Linked DNA regions of Homo sapiens: regions 2, 3, 4, 5 and 6 are each linked to region 1. Evidence: promoter capture Hi-C in 16 types of primary human blood cells and fetal thymus (Javierre and others, 2016). All regions are on one chromosome and are shown on one strand. The core of a region is centred on a gene start or on the middle of the fragment in contact, and the rest is flanking DNA. Distances in the headings are between cores, read along the strand shown. Region 1 holds the start of GNRH2 (gonadotropin releasing hormone 2). Region 2 overlaps IDH3B-DT (IDH3B divergent transcript). Region 3 overlaps EBF4 (EBF family member 4). Region 4 overlaps EBF4 (EBF family member 4). Region 5 has its middle 37 kb from the start of CPXM1. Region 6 overlaps DNAAF9 (dynein axonemal assembly factor 9).

Region 1 (2,715 bases), core at 87-2,586:
GGCAGGGGGCATCTCAGTGGTGTTTCATTCTCCCCACCCTCCCAGCACCCAACCCTAAGCCACAATGGCCTCTGATGACCAGTGGCTGGTCTTGATGCTGGGGACCTCTCACCCTACTCACCAGCAGTGTCCGTGCCAGGTGTCGCTTCCTGTGAAGGGACCACTGGGCCGTGGTCCTGCCCTCCCAGGGCATGCTGTCGTCCAGGGGAGCCAGGGCATCACTTGGGAGGCCATGGGCAGTCTGGACTGGGCTGCCTGCTGCAGTGTCCAGGGCCCTTCCTTAGAAGGGAACTGATGCTGTCCTCCCTACCCCGACCTCAGGCTCCAGGAGGGTGGGGGAGCCCCCGGCCATCACTTTCTTCCTCCCCATGAGGCTGGGAGACACCCACCTGGGGGCCTAAGGGCATTCTGGGGATCCTGGGCTGAGCTGAGGGCTCGCTTTCCTCCAGGGTACCAGCCATGGGACCAGTGCTGAGCCTCTGAGGGTCCAAGGTGGGCAGTCAGCAGCAGCAGGAGCAGGAGGCCTCGCCTGGAGCTGGCCATGGCTGCTCTAATGGACAGGGTACAGCATTCAAGGAGACTTACCTCACCCCCACATCCCCCTACTTCCTCCAGGGCCACTTTGGAAAACTGGCATCTCAGGGGCAGCTTTGGTATCTCCTTATGCCCTTCCCTCTCTGCCACCGCTCCTCATCCCAAGCATACAGGGGTCCAGATCCTGGGGGATCCTGGCCCAGCAGGGGATGATGCTCCAGGGGACGAGCCTTCTCCCTGAGCCTGGGGCACAGAGGCTACCTGCCTTGCCAGCTCTGAGGGCCCTCCCACTTGTCCAGGTCCATCCATCTTTCCTTCAAGGAGTTTCCAGAAGTGGAAGAAAGTTGGAGGGGAACAGAGACCTGAATTCAGGCCAATGGATGGGAGGATAGATGGATGGTCAGGGGAGTTCTCAATGTAGGCGTGTTTGGAGCACCAGTGCTAGGGAACCAGAGTTGCAGGCCTTCTGCCCTTTTCTCCGTGGCCTGCTGTATCTCTTCCATAGTAGTTGGGGATGTGGAATGGATGAGTGGTATTGATGGGGGCAAGTGCTTCTACCCCTTATCCCTCCCATGCCAGGGGCAACAAGCACAAGAATAGATGGTAGAGCTGTTGGGGAGAGGAGAGGAAAAGGGGACTTCTCTGGCATGGTTCAGGGGTGGAGGCACCTGGGAATGGGGAAGAGGAGCAGCACACCATACGCCCAGGATGAAACTTGGTCCAGGTGTCCTAGCCCTTAGGGAAGGCTCCCCACTCACCAAGGAAGAGCTGTGGATGAGATGGCTCCTTCAGGCAGCTGCAGGACCCTAGCCTGATGGCCCCAGGATTTATAGACCAGGCAGCTCCACCCCCAGACTCCAGTGACGTCTTCAGAGGGGAAGAGAGAAGCTCACCACCCAACCCGCTTCCCAGAGCATCCAGTCCATGAACATTCACCAGGCAGCTGCTGCCCTGAGGCCACCGACACATGCTCCCTCCCCACCACCTTCCCAGGAGCCTTCAGGCCCAGGACTCTTGCTTTAGGCTGGCCTATGTCCTGGTCTCACCTTCCCACTTCCCAGGCTGCATCTTCAAGCTCCTGATCTTGAGACCTAGAAAGCCCTCACAGCCTTCCCTGATCCCAAAAGAGAATTGTGTCCTGGGCAGGGGCAATGCCTGGGGGCTCCCCAACTCCCAGCTCAGGGCTTTCCCTGGTGGACAGTGGAAGCCTAAGAGTAGGGAGCCTGGCAGGCTGTTCAGAGGTACAGGGGAGGCTGTGACCACTCTCCCAGAGGGCTTCCGTTTGCTCACTGTAGAGTGGGTTGGGTGGGACAATTCACATCCACACACCTGGGAACCAGGGCTGGGTCACTCCAGATGGCTGGGTTTGGGTGGGGCAGTACCTACCCCGGAGTGGCTTCTCTCCTGGCGAAGAAGCGGGCCCATGAGATGGGGCCCAGCTGTTGGGCCAGTGCAGTCTCCCTAGGTAGGTAGAATAATTTTGTCCCTCAAGGCTCTAACCCCTCCCCAGTCATGGATTTGGACACAGCTAGCCTGGGCTGCTGGAAGTGGGCTCTTGCTTCCCAGTCTGCGTCAGCAGCTCAGCTTTCCTTGGCCAGCCATCAGCCTCTGGGGGTCAGAGGCCTGTTTACAGGGTTCATAGCCAATCTCCGCACTTGGGCTGAACAGCAAATGGGAGGGCCAGGGTCATTTGGAGAGCTGGTGCGTCAAATCCTGTGACAAAGATGGGGGAGGGGAGGCATAATGGGCATCAGTCAGCCCTAGACACCTGGACTTCAGCAGCCAAGGCAGGATGGGCACACCTGTGAACTTCCAGACTGACTTATTAGCAGGGACCGGAAATCAACGTGTGGCCCATTTGTTCAGTTAAATTGTTTTGGCTTAAATATGCGGACTTTGTTAACTGGGTGATTTTTAGGGAAACATTTGCTTGTGGTTTAGTGAAAATGAATCTGAGTTCGACGTACTAGTTTAGTTCTGGTTGGGGTTTACAGAATGCTTTCTTCAAAGATGCACCAAGGCTGGTGTACCTTTAAAAGGGGGATGGTTGCCTTTATTTATTCTGTAATTTGATTCCGGCTTTTCCTGAAAAATCTAAACCAGAGCCAAGCTTCCTGGGGAAAGCTCTGCTCCCTTTTTTTTCCGGCAACATACTTAGCTTTTAAGAAATGTTTGGTCCTT
Region 2 (2,715 bases), core at 94-2,593, 380 kb after region 1:
GATACAGTGTTGAGTGAAGAAGGTAAATTATAAAACAGTAAGTATATAGAGTATGAAACCATTTATTCCGACGCACACACTCATACACCAAAAACAATACTATATATTCTGTGTGTGTGTGTGTGTGTGTGTGTAAGAAAAGGGTTTTAAAGCGGACAACTAACTGATTCTGAGGTTAGGGCAAAAAGATTGGGGCTGTGAGTTGGTATGGTAAGAAAAAAATATATTTTAAAAAATATATATTTTTAAAAGAGGGTTATCTAATTAAAAGTACTAAAGCAAAATTCTATATTAAAACTAATGGAAAAAAAGAAGTGTTGCCTTTTAGGGGCTCTTTCTGGTAACTGATATCACCTCTCTCATTCTCTGCCATCTCTCATCTCCTGGTCTCTCTTGCTTATCAAGAGAAGACTATGTCACTTGGATCCCAGCTTTTCCCTGCCTCAGCTGAGGCCACTATCCTCGTTGACTCCCATGGTGACATGGATGCCTCATCAATATTGTGGGTTTGAGTCCTCATCTGCAGGGTCCTTGAGATCTCCTTGGCATCCACTCCCATTTCCTATCTGGGACTTCATTATCACCAGCATCTACTCCACCTCCAAAACCACTGGTGGAAGCAGCGTCCTCTCTTCCCATGTTACTTGCTCAACAACTCCCACAAGTACTACTCTTTGAATATTTTGGGGGGGTCTTTGATTCTTTCCTCAGCTGCCTGTTGATTAGATCTCTTCTGTCTTCACTTGCCTCCTGATCCCATTTTGCCAACACTCTCAACTCCCTTGTACCACTCTCTAGCAAAATATCACTTTTGGATGAACTCACTTTTGGTTTGCTCTCACCGTGAAATCACACACAATTGCACCACAATAAACTTCATGGTCACCAACCTCAACAGGGTGCTTAGTATTGCTCACAAAACTCTCTCTGTTTCTCTCGGACCTTGAACATGCACCAGTCCTACTTACTCACCAATCCTCACTATAACTCATCTCCTCAAATATATCTGCCCACCTCACTGTTCGTCAGCACGCTATGTTCACTGTCACCTCCGCAAGGTAGTGTCTGCCTTGGCCAGGTCCTCTTGGCAAGCTGGTGTATCCATTCCCCCAGTTGCTTCAGGTATTTGCCACTAACGGCTCAAAGCTTCCCCCTTCTCTGAAGGATTGGCCCTGGCCTATGCCATGCAGGGGCAAAGCAGGGTTGTTAAGCCTTGTCTCAAATCATGACAACCTTGAGTTGTCACTAATGCTCCAGAGCTCCCCAGGAGATGGGGCTGAGGTGGACTCTGGCTGAGGCCACATCTTGCTGAGCTCCTTCCCCTCCATATTCTGCTCATTCACCTTCTGATGTGTTTCTCCTGAGAGCACTCCTTCAACAGGTCAATTGCATAGAATCCCTGTCTTGGGCTCTGCTTCTAGGGCAGTTGATCTGAAACAGTAGCTTTGCTTACATTTCCATTTTCCCTGAGTGTAATCACTTCTCCTCTGTAATTCTGTTTATCCTTTCAATCACAGATCAAATTCTCCCAAGAAGCTTTTTCAGACGTTAATTTTCAAGGAATTGTCATTGGTTATATTACTCTTTTGATTGTTCATGGTTTCAGAAAAAGATCCAGTAGGCCTAATACACCAGAAATTCTGAAACTTTTGTGTGCAGCGGACCTCTTTGGAAGGCTGGTGAAGCCTGTGGAACCTTTCTTAGAAGAGGCTTTTAGGCCGGGTGCAGTGGCTCATGCCTGTAATCCCAGCACTTTGGGAGGCCGAGGCGGGTGGATCACGAGGTCAAGAGATCGAGACTATCCTGGCTAACACGGTGAAACCCTGTCTCTACTAAAAATACAAAAAGATTAGCTGGGCGTGGTGGCGGGCGCCTGTAGTCCCAGCTACTCCGGAGGCTGAGGCAGGAGAATGGTGTGAACCCGGGAGGTGGAGCTTGCACTCAGCTGAGATCGCCCACTGCTCTTCAGCCTGGGCAACAGAGCGACTCTGTCTCCAAAAAAAAAAAAAAAAAGAGACTTTTAAGTATATAAAATAAATAGAATTACAAGACAAATATGATTAAGACAAGCCTGGGCGACATAGCAAGACCTCATGTCTACAAAATATTTAAAAATTAGCTAGGCATGGTGGCGCATGCCTGTAGTCCCAGCTACTTGGGAGGCTGAGGTGGGAGGATCACCTGAGCCCAGGAGTTTGAGGTTACAGTGAGCCGTGATCACACCCTAGCCTGGGGAACAGACTGAAACCATCTCTCTAAAAGGAGAAAAGGAATAAAAGCTACCTTGTAACATACTACTATGTTTGCTGCTTTATTAATTCATTAAATAACACAATCTAGCATTGGGTCAAATAATGTAAAAATAGGATTAAAGTAAGTGATATTTTGAGAGATCTACTACAACTAAAATGTGGTATGAAAATATCTATACTTTTTATGATTGACAAAGTCAAGAGTACTACAGGCAGCACTGTAATCTGTGACCTGCATTCATAATGAAAGGAAATGCTAAACTTCAGTTAGAGGTTAGTGAGAATAAAGATGTGATTTTTGGTTTTTCCCCCATCCAGGTTCACAGTGCTGATTCCTATTCATGGACACCTAGGGGGTTCTGTAGATCCCAAGTCAGGACTCCTGTGCTGGAGGATTTGCAGGCCTGGGAAGCAGACATTCAAGTCACTCAGCTTCACACTGAACACTCAAGTGTAGGCAGCT
Region 3 (2,715 bases), core at 145-2,644, 330 kb after region 1:
ATTTCATTCATTCAAATTTACATCTGCAGCCTGAACCTTTCTCTTGAGTCCCATCCTCATGTTTTCTGTGGCTTTTTCAGCTCCTCACTTGGATGTTTAGTGAGCATCATAAACATAACATGCTCAAACCAAACTCCAGATCTTTCTCCTCCAAAACCTGCTCTTCCCCAAATCACACCCTTCTCAGGAAACTCCATCCTTCTAAGTTGATAGGTCAGAAACCTTGGAGACATCTTTGAGTCTTTGACTCTCTCTCTCTCCTTCCATAACAAATCCTGTCAGTCCTGCCTATGAAATGAAATGTACACAGAATGCAGCCGCTTCTTACAACCTCCCCTATAGCATCCCTAGTCTCAGCTTCCATCATCCTTCACCTGGGCTATTGTACTGGCTTCCTAACTCATCTCCCTGCCTTGTACAGGTCATTGTCAATATGGCAGCTAGAGTGATCTTGCTAAAATATAAGGCAGGTCTTATCATTCTCAACACCCCTCAATGGCTTCCATGTCCTGCCAAAGCCCTTACAATGACCCACAAGTGTGGCCTCCATGCAGCCTATAAGACCCTGCATGGTCGTGCCTTCCTCTGCCCCATTCATTATTCCTGACATCATTTCCTCCTACTACCTTCCTTGCTCCAGCCACCTGGGCCTCCTTGTTTTCCCTTAAACACAGCAGGCACACTCTTGCCGAGAATATTCTTCCCCCAGATACATAAATACATCGCTCACTCTCTTACTTCCTTGAGGTCTTGGCTCAAATGTCATCTTTTCAGTGAGACCTTAAATACCCTAAAGCTTCAAACCTTCCTTCCTAGGCACTCCCAGATCTTCCTCAATGGCTTTATTTTTCTTAGCTGTTATCACCATCTAACATGCTATGTATTTTTTTCATTTAGTTTGTTAATGTCTATTTCCCCTACCAGATTGTAAGCCCGTGAACACAAGGCTTTTTGTCTATTTTGGTCATTGCTTAATCCACAGCATGTAGAAAAGTTCTTAGCACAGAGTAGATGCTCAAGAATTGTTGATTGAACAAATAAACAAAAATACTTAATTGGCCAGAGTGTAAGGAATAGGCATTCTCAAAATTGCTGGTTTCAATGCTGTTGGTATAACCCCTACAGAGATCGAATTGGCAGTAGCTATCAAAACTACAAATGCACATATTCTTTGTCCCAGCAATTCTACTTAGTAATAGCCTTCATATAAATTTACACGTGTGAAATGGCACATGGACAAAGTAATTCACTGCAGCATTTTTAAATCCCTGAAAAGGGATGAAAACAACCAAAATGTCCAGCAATATCTGACTATTTAAATAAATTATGGCATACCCATACAATGAAATATTTTGCAGTGGCAAAAAAGAATAAGGAGACTTCTTGTGTCCTGATGTAAACTCCCAGATCTAAATTTTTCAAGGAAAAAGAAAGGTGCTGAAAGTTCTGCTTCCTGCCACCATTTTAATTTTAATTTAATTTTATTATTATTATTATTATTATTATTATTATTTTAGACAGGGTCTCACTCTGTTGCCCAGACTGGAGTGCAGTGGCACAATCACAGCTCGCTGCAGTCTAGACCTCCTGGGCTCAGGTGATCCTCCCACCTCGGCCTCCTGAGTAGCTGGGACCACAGATGTACACCACCATGCCCAGCTAATTTTTGTGTGTGTATTTTTTGTTGAGATGGGATTTTACCCTGTTGGCCAGGCTGGTCTCAAACTCATGGGCTCAAGCAATCCCCCTGCCTCAGCCTCCCAAAGTGTTGGGATTACAGGCATGAGCCACTGCACTCAGCCACTGTCACCATTTTTATAAAAACAAAAGGAAAGGGTACAAAAAGAACATATAACTATTTTGTTGTATATGCACAGACTATCTCAGGAAGGATACAACAGAAACTGCTAATAGTGGTAGCTTATTTGGTGGGGAATGGATGGGTGGGAGACAGAGGTGGGAGACAGTTTGCTGTAAACCCTTTTAAGCTTCTTGAATTTTTGCACCTATGAATGCTTTTTCTATTAAAAGGAGAATAAGATATGGTTTATGTTCCTGTGTGGAATATCTAAAATATATTGTTACCAAAAAAAAAAAACATGTACAGTATGCTCTACATAGGGGTGGAGGGAGACTTCCTTTTCATTATTTACTGTTTTGTACCATTTGAATTTTACACCTTATTTATGCATTTCCTCTTCAAAAAGAAGTAGGCCAGGCACAGTGGCTCATGTTTGTAATCCCAGCACTTTGGAAGGTCGAGGTGGGTGGATTGCTTGAGCCCAGGAGTTCAAGACCAGCCTGAGCAATATGGCAAAACCCGGTCTCTACAAAAAATACAAAAAATTAGCCAGGTGTGGAGGCGTGTCCTTGTAGTCCCAATTACCTGGGAGGCTGAGGTGGGAGGATCACCGGAACCTCGGAGATTGAGGCTGCAGTGAGCCATGACCACACCACTGCACTTTAGCCTGGGCGACAAAACAAAACAAACACACACACACAAAATAAAGAAATAGAAATCATGGTGTGCAAATGCACTTTTACATGCATCACCTCGACAATTCTATGACTGAAACCTGCCAGCTCTTTCCCCACTTTTCCAGTGAAAGAAACGAATGTTCAGAGAAGTCAGGTCAGACAGCACAGGGGTGAACTGGGAACCTGAGCCTGGTTTTTGCTGACATGACCACGCTGGCCACTCCACCTGGACGGTTC
Region 4 (2,715 bases), core at 146-2,645, 300 kb after region 1:
AGTGGGATGGAGCTGCTTTTTTTTTTCAGTCAGGGTCTCGCTCTGTCACCCAGACTGGAGTGCAGTGGTGTGATCTTGGCTCACTGCAGCCTTGACCTCCCAGGCTTAAGTGATCCTCTCACCTCAGCCTCCTGAGCAGGTGGGACTACAGGTCACACTACCATGCTCAGCTAATTTTGTTTATTTTTTGTAGAGACGGAGGTCTCAGTACGTTGCCCAGGCTGGTCTCAAACTCCTGGGCTCAGGCGATCCTTCTGATTCAGCCTCCCAAAATGCTGAGATTACAGGCATGAGCCACCATGCCTGGCCTGGAGCTTCTTTTGGAAGACAACGTCCAGGAACTTTACAGTGAGTTGATGCCTGCCTGATTCCCTCATGCCCCAGCTGCAGTGTAGACTGTCAAATGGCTCGCAGCTGCCCCAAGGTAATCTGAGAATTACCCTCAGCCAAGAGCATATACTCCCCACCAGTAGCCCACAGCCAATGACAGATTGACATTACAAGGAGGACCAACTCTCTGGCCATTCACACTCCAGACCTCTGCATGGGATAGGCTGACGCTAGACTCCGACCGAGACCACCTCCTTGTTAAACTCCCTCTATACTCATTCCTTTTCTCCTGAGAGCTCTCCTTTGATAAACCTCTTTCACAAGAATCCCCATCTCAGGCTCTGCTTCCAGGAATCCCACCCTAAGAAAACTTAGGTCACAGAGCTAAGGCTTTTCACCAGCTTTTTCTTCCCTGCATCCCCATGAGATACTTAGGGCTGAAATTATGTTCTCACTTCCAAAGAGAAAGCTGTCAGTAACTCAAAGAGCTGGAAGGAGAGCCCGAGTGCATTTTCCACTACAGGTCTGTCAGGGGCAAGGAAGAACGTGTCTAGATTACAGTGCTCCCTAAGGGAACTTTTTCCAGAATGATATGCATTAGCCACGCATGGCTACTAAGCACTGGAAATGTGGCTAGTGCAACTGAGGAACTGAATTTTATTTCATTTTAATTAACATAAATCTATTTTTTTTTTGAAACGGAGTCTCGCTCTGTTGCCCAGGCTGGAGTGCAGTGGCGTGATCTCGGCTCACTGCAACCTCCACCTCCTGGGTTCAAGCGATTCTCCCGCCTCAGCCTCCTGAGTAGCTGGGACTAAAGGCGACTGCCACCATGCCCAGCTAATTTTTGTATTTTTAGTAGAGACAGCGTTTCACCATATTGGTCAGGCTGGTCATGAACTCCTGACCTCTGGTGATCCACCCGCCTTGGCCTCCCAAAGTGCTGGAATTACAGGCGTGGGCCACTGCGCCCAGCCATTTTAATGAACATAAATCTAAATAGTCACATGTGGCTCGAGACTACCATATTGGACAGTGCAGATCTAGAAAGAAGGTATGCAGTGAATGGATATACGAGCTGGGGCAGGATGTTCCAAACAACAGTGTGTCCTGTGAAGGCCTTGGGAAAGACAGCAGGTTAAGAGTGAAGGGTAGATTAAATTGGATATGTGTTTCCAAGCCCAAAGCTGGCACTGCAGCCTGAGATGGGGAAATAAGGGGACAGGGATCTCCGCTAATTTTTATCCTAAAAGATTTGTCTTGGGCTCCCATGAGCCTCCGAAGAAACTGAAGCAGTTTCTGGCTCTCCAGCGTGTTCACTGTCTGCTTCTCTCTACCCTCAGCTCAGGGACAGAGGAGGACACAGAGGGCTGGGCCATTCATCCCCTCATTCATTCCATACACCCACTTAAAAAGATTTATTAAATACCTTCTATGTGTTAGGCACTGCGGCATTGTATAAAATCTTAAGGAAATTACAACCCAACAGGAAAGAGAAACTCAGGAAGACAGAGTGGTGGGCACGGCAGGAGGATGTGCCAAGTGTAATCTGCAGTGGCCACTTATTTTGCCTAGGGGAGGCGGAATGCTTCCTAGAGCTCCAATTTGGTCTTGGGTGATGGGTCTTGGAGGATCTCACCGAGAAGTAGGAGGCAGGGCCCTCCATGCAAAGGGACTAACAGCTCCACCACGGGGCAGACGGCTCACTCGATCAGTGGTGCCTGACAAGACTGAGGAGGGCAGCGTGGCTTGGGGCCTGGGGTTGGGACCAAATCATGCGGGACTTGGATCCTCTGGGTGATGGGAAGGCTACAGGGGATGTCTCCCTTCAGGCAGAAACAGGCACCAAAGGGCCTACGCTAGAGAAGGGAAGGGAAATGAGGAGCTTACTGTAATAGTTCAGGCCCATGTGGGGTTGGCCCAGGCTGCTTCCTGGTCTTAGCCTGCGGTAGAAGCCAAGATAGACTGTCCCCAGGGCCACAGCCACCTGCCAGGCCTGGACCTGGCCTCCCCACCATGATCCCCACCCGGGTAGAGGTGGCTGCAGTGCAGATGGGCTGGAGGACTATAAATAGCCAGGGCGCATACATTAGCATGCCAATGCACCCGCACCCCATCCTCTATGCTAATGGCCCACCATGCGCCTGAACACCTTCTGTTCCCCTGCATGCATTTGCATGCACAATTAGCATAATCTTGTATAATTAATGAACAGCGTCAATTTTAGCTCCTAAGTAATTTGATTAACATGTTGATAGGGCACTTACTAGGCTCTCCAAACCTCAGGGCTGGGCATGGGGCCTGAGGAGAAGGGGAGGGGGTGTGGAGAGACTGCTAAGGGGCCCCCAGCTGCCCACCAAGAGTGGCAGTGGCTCCACTTTCCCC
Region 5 (2,715 bases), core at 121-2,620, 280 kb after region 1:
GAAAATCTCATAATGAAGGCAGGCGTGGTGGCTTACGCCTGTAATACCAGCACTGTGGGAGTCTGAGGCAGGAGGATCACTTGAACCCAGGAGTTTGAGACCAGTCTGGGCAATATAGTGAGACCTCCATCTCTTACCCCCTAAAAAATTAGCTGGGTGTGGTACCTGTAGTCCCAACTACTCAAGTGGCTGAGGCAGGAGGGTTGCTTGAACCCAGGAGTGAGCTATGATTGTGCCATTGCACTCCAGCCTGGGTGACAGAGTGAAACCCTGACACACACACACACACACACACACACACACCTCTTAGTAAGAGTGAAGAGAAGGGGAGCATGGGAGAAGTGATAAGAGGATGCTAGGTCCATATTTGTGGTCGATGCCTCGCCCCCATCAGGACTCTCACAGTGAAGGTCTTCTTGTGAACGGCCAACTTCTAGGCTGGTGGCTCCAAGGAGGTGACCCATTCCCTTCCATCACCCAGTGAGTGTTGTTACTACCACTGAGGTGGTAGCAGAGGAGGGAGCTGTGGACAGGGTGGGGAAGGCGGCTGGCCCAGGATAAGCAGTTAAGAGCTTTGGGAAATCACTAACCATGAAGACCTAGTCTCTCCTCGGGTAGAAAGACACTGTGAACTGTGAACTTTTTCCTATTTGGAAAAGTTCTCCTAGAGAAGTGAAAAGAGACTTTAGGGTCCATTTGAACCATTTCAAATATGTCCAGTGCTTGCTTCATTCCAAAGTTGGTCACATGGGTAGAAAAACAGACCTTGGATATCACTCTGGCAAAAAGCTTCTAGTCTATCTTCAGGGGCGTAAAGATTTATTGCTTTAGGTTTCACAGTTCCATCCACAATCCACCTGAAATTGATTTTTGTGTATGGTGTGAGGTAGAGGCCAAATGTAATTTTTGCATATGGCTATCCAATTAACCCAACACCATTTTCTTTTTTGAGAGATGGGGGTCTCACTTGTTGCCCAGGCTGGCCTCAAACCCCTGGGCTCAAGCAATCCTCCTGCCTCAGCCTCCCAAATAGCTGCCTGGGCTCTAACGTCATATTTTTAAAAGACCATCCTTTCCACACTGCGCAGCAGTTTCCATTTCTCTAGGGGATTTTTCTTTTTGGAAGAAGTTAAAAGGCTCTGCCAATATGGGGAGGGGGCAGGGAGAATGCTATTTTGCAGAATAGTCAGCAGAGGGCTGGTCAAAGCTGCTGCCTGGCTTCTCTTGAGCCAGTGAGACCTGTCTATAGCGGGTCCTGTCTGAGCCAAAATGTAGCCCCAGAAGCTCTCTGGTCCCCAGGGTCAGATGCAAAGTGTAGCAGCCTGGTTCTGCTGGGAAAAATTTGTAAGAGGAAAGCAGAGGACTTACTGGAGATGCACTCTCTCTGAACGGTGAGCAGCCAAGCGTCTGGTGCCCTTTCTATTCCCACCCCCATTAGAAGCCTGGGGGTGGGCTGACGCTGAGAGGGACCCCTTTGTCACCTGGCATCTTGGTACTTCAACAAGAAATAGCCTGGGCAGTTTTTGTCACCTGGTGCCAGGTAGAGGTGGGATCTGCAGATATAGGAAAAATCCATGCCTACTCCAAACTTACTTTAAGTAGAAAAAACCATCTTCCCCTGGATGACTGCCAGGGACCACCTCCAGGTATGTGCCCCACCCACATCCCCTCATCTGTACCTCCTCTGTGTACTCCTGTCTGATTCCAACTGTCAGCTCCTGCTTCTCTTTGTCTGAGTGTTTTCTCTAGCTACTGGGACTGTTTTACCACCTGTGGGGAAGACTGGAGGTGCCAGAAAGCTAGTGCTGCCCTCCCACTCCATCCAGAAGCCCTAACCACTGACTGATGAGAATTAGTGTATAAGTACCCCAGCTGCCTCACTCCTCAGGTGCGAAATTCCTGAGGTATGCATTTTATAGCCTCCCAGAGCTCCCAGCTGGGATTAAGCTTCAGAAAAACCCACAGTAGTAGCGTGCTCAGTAGCACTCTGTATTGGGCTTCCTTCTTTCTGCTGCCTCCCCTCCCTGCTCCCCTGACCGGTGCGTTCTGCAATTGTTGCCCAAATAAACCATCTGGACCCACCTCCTGTCCCAAGGTCTGCTGCTGGGGGAACTGAAATGAAGACAACTTCCATTCCAGGCGAATGATCCCACCCTGACCAATATTCACATAGGAATTGGAGCTAAGGTTAGGATTTTCATCACTTGCCTGGGATATCCAGGCTCTGTAGGGATGAATGCCAATGAGCCAATCAATTCTACTTGTGTGCAAGGCCTCAGGACTGAGCTAAACTAAGACCTAGTCATTTGATAGCATTTATTGGGTAGTGGGTCTCCACTACAGATTTATGTAAGCTCCAGGCCAAGTTTCTGCCACTTGGCTTAATGTCATCCTCAGGTGCTATTGAGAATGGAACCTCTTTGACTACAGGATGTGGGAAGTCTGAAAGGTGTTCCATTTGCAAGGCCCAGAAGATGCCCCAGTTGCTTTGCAGAAGGTGCCACAGACCCAGACACAGGCCCCGGTTTGCTGGTGGGCCGGTCTTGTACTGACTCATGGTCAGCAGTTTGACTTGCTCCTCACTGATTATAGACTACAAGAAGGCCTGGTGTGATATTGACTTGGCTAATAGTTTTCATCTCAAATAACAACTCTGATCAGTAGCTTCGTTGAAAATGATTCTGTCATCACGGTGGTTTTGTGGCATAGCAGAGG
Region 6 (2,715 bases), core at 92-2,591, 280 kb before region 1:
CAAATATTACCATCATGTTATAATTGCCTACAGTATTCAGTATAGTAACATGCTGTACGGGTTTGTAGCCTAGGAGCAATAGACTATACCAGCTAGCCTAGGTGTATAGTAGGCTACACCATCTAGGTTTAAGTACACTCTACAATGTTCACACAGTGATGAAATCAGCTAATGATGCATTTCTCAGAATGTATCCCTGTCATTAAGTGATACATGACTATAATTATTTAAATGGCCAATAATCAACAGGGACCTGGGTCTGCCATGAAGTAGAGTAGTCAGAGCAACGTTTTCCAACCTGTGTGCTGGGGGCATGGTTTGGAGATGCACTGAGATAATGGTCCCTGGGGTGGGATGGCATGGCGAAGGGGAGCCAGAGTTTCTAGGCCAGTTGTTCTCAGCCACAAGCTGAGTCCTCCCTTTACCCCAGAACATCCTGATGTGAAGAAGATTGGCAAATGGTACATGAGAGGGTAGTACATATCTAGCCAAGATTCTGTTTGTGGTGTGTGTTATATCTTGAGTCTGTTCTGTGACCACTGCCTGAGCCTTAGTTTGAAAAAGCTTTGGTCCCAGGGAACTGGGTGAGCAGCACCCAGTGGATAATTTGGTACAAGCGCATCCCCATCACCATCACCTGTGGAAAAGTAACTCAAAAGTTCCTGTCAGTAGTGTTAACCTATCTACAGAGAATAGCACAACAAGGGTAATTTTTTTAAGGTTGTAATTTATGTTTTTATAATGTTCCTGGTCCCCATCTGTCAACATTTTGTGTGGATGTTCTTTTAGAACTAGTTTAGACTTTTTTGTGATATCATTAAAACATTGGGAAATACTTTCTGATATTTAGGTGATAATACTTTATCTCCTTGTTAGACTTTAAATCCCTGACTTCTCTCCTTAGACTCTTGAGCAGTGCTTTGGAAGATGCTTTGCATAGTAGCAGGTGATTAGGAATCCAGTAAAATCATAGTCTTGCGTCAAGTATGCACAGCTAATGAGATAGGAAATAAGAGGCAGGAAGTTGATGCTTTTTGTCTACATTCTGTCCTCTTATCCAGAGATGAAGTTCTATATCCTCCCCAAAGCCTTCCCTGTTGATTTCTCCCTACAAGTATTCCTATAGTCCTTGCAGTTGCAGTTTGTACTACACAAATTAAGAAATAATTATATCCTAATGTGTCATATGATATCATAATGTGTCATATGATGACCTTCATATAAGAATGCCCTTGTTTCTCCAGCTATACATTATAGATTTCCTGAAGACAGGCACCATGCTGTATTTTTTCTTTCCCCGTGCCACATGGTGGGAAGTACATAACAAGTGTCCAACAAATGCTACATGTTATCTTTTTAATATCCTCTCTTCCCTTCCTCAATACCAGTGGCCAAATATGAACATGAAGGATCAGGAACCCCCAGGATCTGTCCACCTGATTGGTCTGGGAACCAAAGACATAGGATTGCCATTGTCACTTAAGAGGGACCATGTAGCTCAGGAGGGTTCTGTGTCTTCAGATGCTCGAAATCCTTTGAGACAGCTTTAGATAAACCTTCCAGTTGTCAAACCTGAAAGGAAAGTTAATTCAAATATAGACGCCTACTTGTCTCTTTTGTATATCCTATTATCATAATAATATGGAAAATTAAGGGCTTTGGCCTTAACTGTGGTTTTTTTCCTTTCAACCTTGTGGCCTCTTTAAGTTTTTATTTGAAAATTCAGCAATCCGTTCAAGAGCCTCAGATCTTTTGTCTCTGTCCTAAGGGGTGGGACAGGCGTCCCAGGCTAGGACGACAATATGTGAAAGTGGACTTAGGAGATCTGCACCAGCACCCACCGCTCACTACTATTCAGGGTAGGAGGGGACAGGTCCTTGTGCTACTTATCCCATGTCCCTCATCAGATCTTCCTGGTCATCACAGACTCTAGCTCTAGCTAACATCATTTTCTCTTTCTTCTGCTGGCTTCTTCCCGGAATTGTTTCATTTTCACTAGTTTTTACCTAATAAATTAGGGCTTTCTTACCAGACATTTGGGAGCTCTCTGAGTTGTTCTAATTTTGTTTCCAGGCTACTGAAGCCTCAGCTTTTATTTGTCTTGGCCATAAAAGCTTGATAGCTTTCTTGCTTTTTTTTTTTTTTTTTTTTTTTTTTTGAGACGGGGTCTCGGTCCGTTGCCCAGGCTGGAGTGCAGTGGCATGATCATAGATCACTGCAGCCTCAACCTCCTGGGCTCAAACAATCCTCCTGCCTTAGCCTCCTGAATAACAGAGACCACAGGCAGACGCCACCATGCCTGGCTATTTTTTTTTCTTTTTTTTTTTTTTTTTTTTTTGAGACAGAGTCTTGCTCTGTTGCCCAGGCTGGAGTTCAGTGGCGCGATCTCAGCTCACTGCAGCCTCCACCTCCCAGGTTCAAGCAATTCTCCTGCCTCAGCCTCCCAAGTAGCTGGGATTACAGGCACACGCCACCATGCCTGGCTAATTTTTTTTTGTATTTTTAGTAGAGATGGGGTTTCACCATGTTGCCCAGGCTAGTCTCAAACTCCTGGGCTCAAGTGATCCACCCGCCTCAACCTCCCAAAGTGTTGGGATTATGGGCATGAGTCATTATGCCTAGCCTAATTTTTTCTTTAGTAGAGTGGGGATCTCACTGTGTTGTTCAGGGTGGTCTCAAACTCCTGGGTTCCTTGACCTCCCAAATTACTGGGAT

The links. The method cuts DNA at HindIII sites, captures the fragments that hold promoters and counts their contacts. A CHiCAGO score of 5 or more calls a contact.
Region 2: a contact is called between a fragment that was not itself captured here and the fragment with the promoter of GNRH2 in region 1, in 4 of 17 cell types (naive CD8 T cells, total CD8 T cells, naive CD4 T cells and 1 more). The highest score is 7.4, in naive CD8 T cells.
Region 3: a fragment that was not itself captured here is called in contact with the fragment with the promoter of GNRH2 in region 1 in 1 of 17 cell types (M0 macrophages); the score reaches 5.2 in M0 macrophages.
Region 4: a fragment that was not itself captured here is called in contact with the fragment with the promoter of GNRH2 in region 1 in 1 of 17 cell types (naive CD4 T cells); the score reaches 5.9 in naive CD4 T cells.
Region 5: a fragment that was not itself captured here is called in contact with the fragment with the promoter of GNRH2 in region 1 in 1 of 17 cell types (endothelial precursors); the score reaches 5.1 in endothelial precursors.
Region 6: a contact is called between a fragment that was not itself captured here and the fragment with the promoter of GNRH2 in region 1, in 5 of 17 cell types (naive CD4 T cells, naive CD8 T cells, total CD4 T cells and 2 more). The highest score is 10.0, in naive CD4 T cells.

What each region holds. Positions count from the first base shown.
Region 1 is chr20:3,042,243-3,044,957 of GRCh38, reverse strand. It overlaps GNRH2 (gonadotropin releasing hormone 2), which reads right to left and starts at 1,336. Exons shown (of 4, transcript NM_178331.2): 1 at 1,293-1,336; 2 at 390-550; 3 at 122-258. The coding sequence starts at 543. The HindIII fragment of the contact is 14,485 bases long and covers 1-2,646 here.
Region 2 is chr20:2,666,781-2,669,495 of GRCh38, reverse strand. IDH3B-DT (IDH3B divergent transcript) reads right to left here. Exons shown (of 3, transcript NR_186432.1): 3 at 43-1,988. Among named protein-coding and RNA genes, the nearest start is that of IDH3B-DT, 3.9 kb to the right of the region's middle. The HindIII fragment of the contact is 390 bases long and covers 1,149-1,538 here.
Region 3 is chr20:2,709,947-2,712,661 of GRCh38, reverse strand. All of the region lies in intron 6 of EBF4 (EBF family member 4), which reads right to left. Among named protein-coding and RNA genes, the nearest start is that of EBF4, 19 kb to the right of the region's middle. The HindIII fragment of the contact is 1,192 bases long and covers 799-1,990 here.
Region 4 is chr20:2,738,623-2,741,337 of GRCh38, reverse strand. The region is part of intron 6 of EBF4 (EBF family member 4); the gene reads right to left. Among named protein-coding and RNA genes, the nearest start is that of EBF4, 47 kb to the right of the region's middle. RefSeq lists an enhancer at 2,195-2,715. The HindIII fragment of the contact is 5,127 bases long and covers 1-2,715 here.
Region 5 is chr20:2,761,889-2,764,603 of GRCh38, reverse strand. No RefSeq gene overlaps it. Among named protein-coding and RNA genes, the nearest start is that of CPXM1, 37 kb to the left of the region's middle. The HindIII fragment of the contact is 1,158 bases long and covers 792-1,949 here.
Region 6 is chr20:3,318,706-3,321,420 of GRCh38, reverse strand. All of the region lies in intron 16 of DNAAF9 (dynein axonemal assembly factor 9), which reads left to right. Among named protein-coding and RNA genes, the nearest start is that of SLC4A11, 81 kb to the right of the region's middle. The HindIII fragment of the contact is 1,550 bases long and covers 567-2,116 here.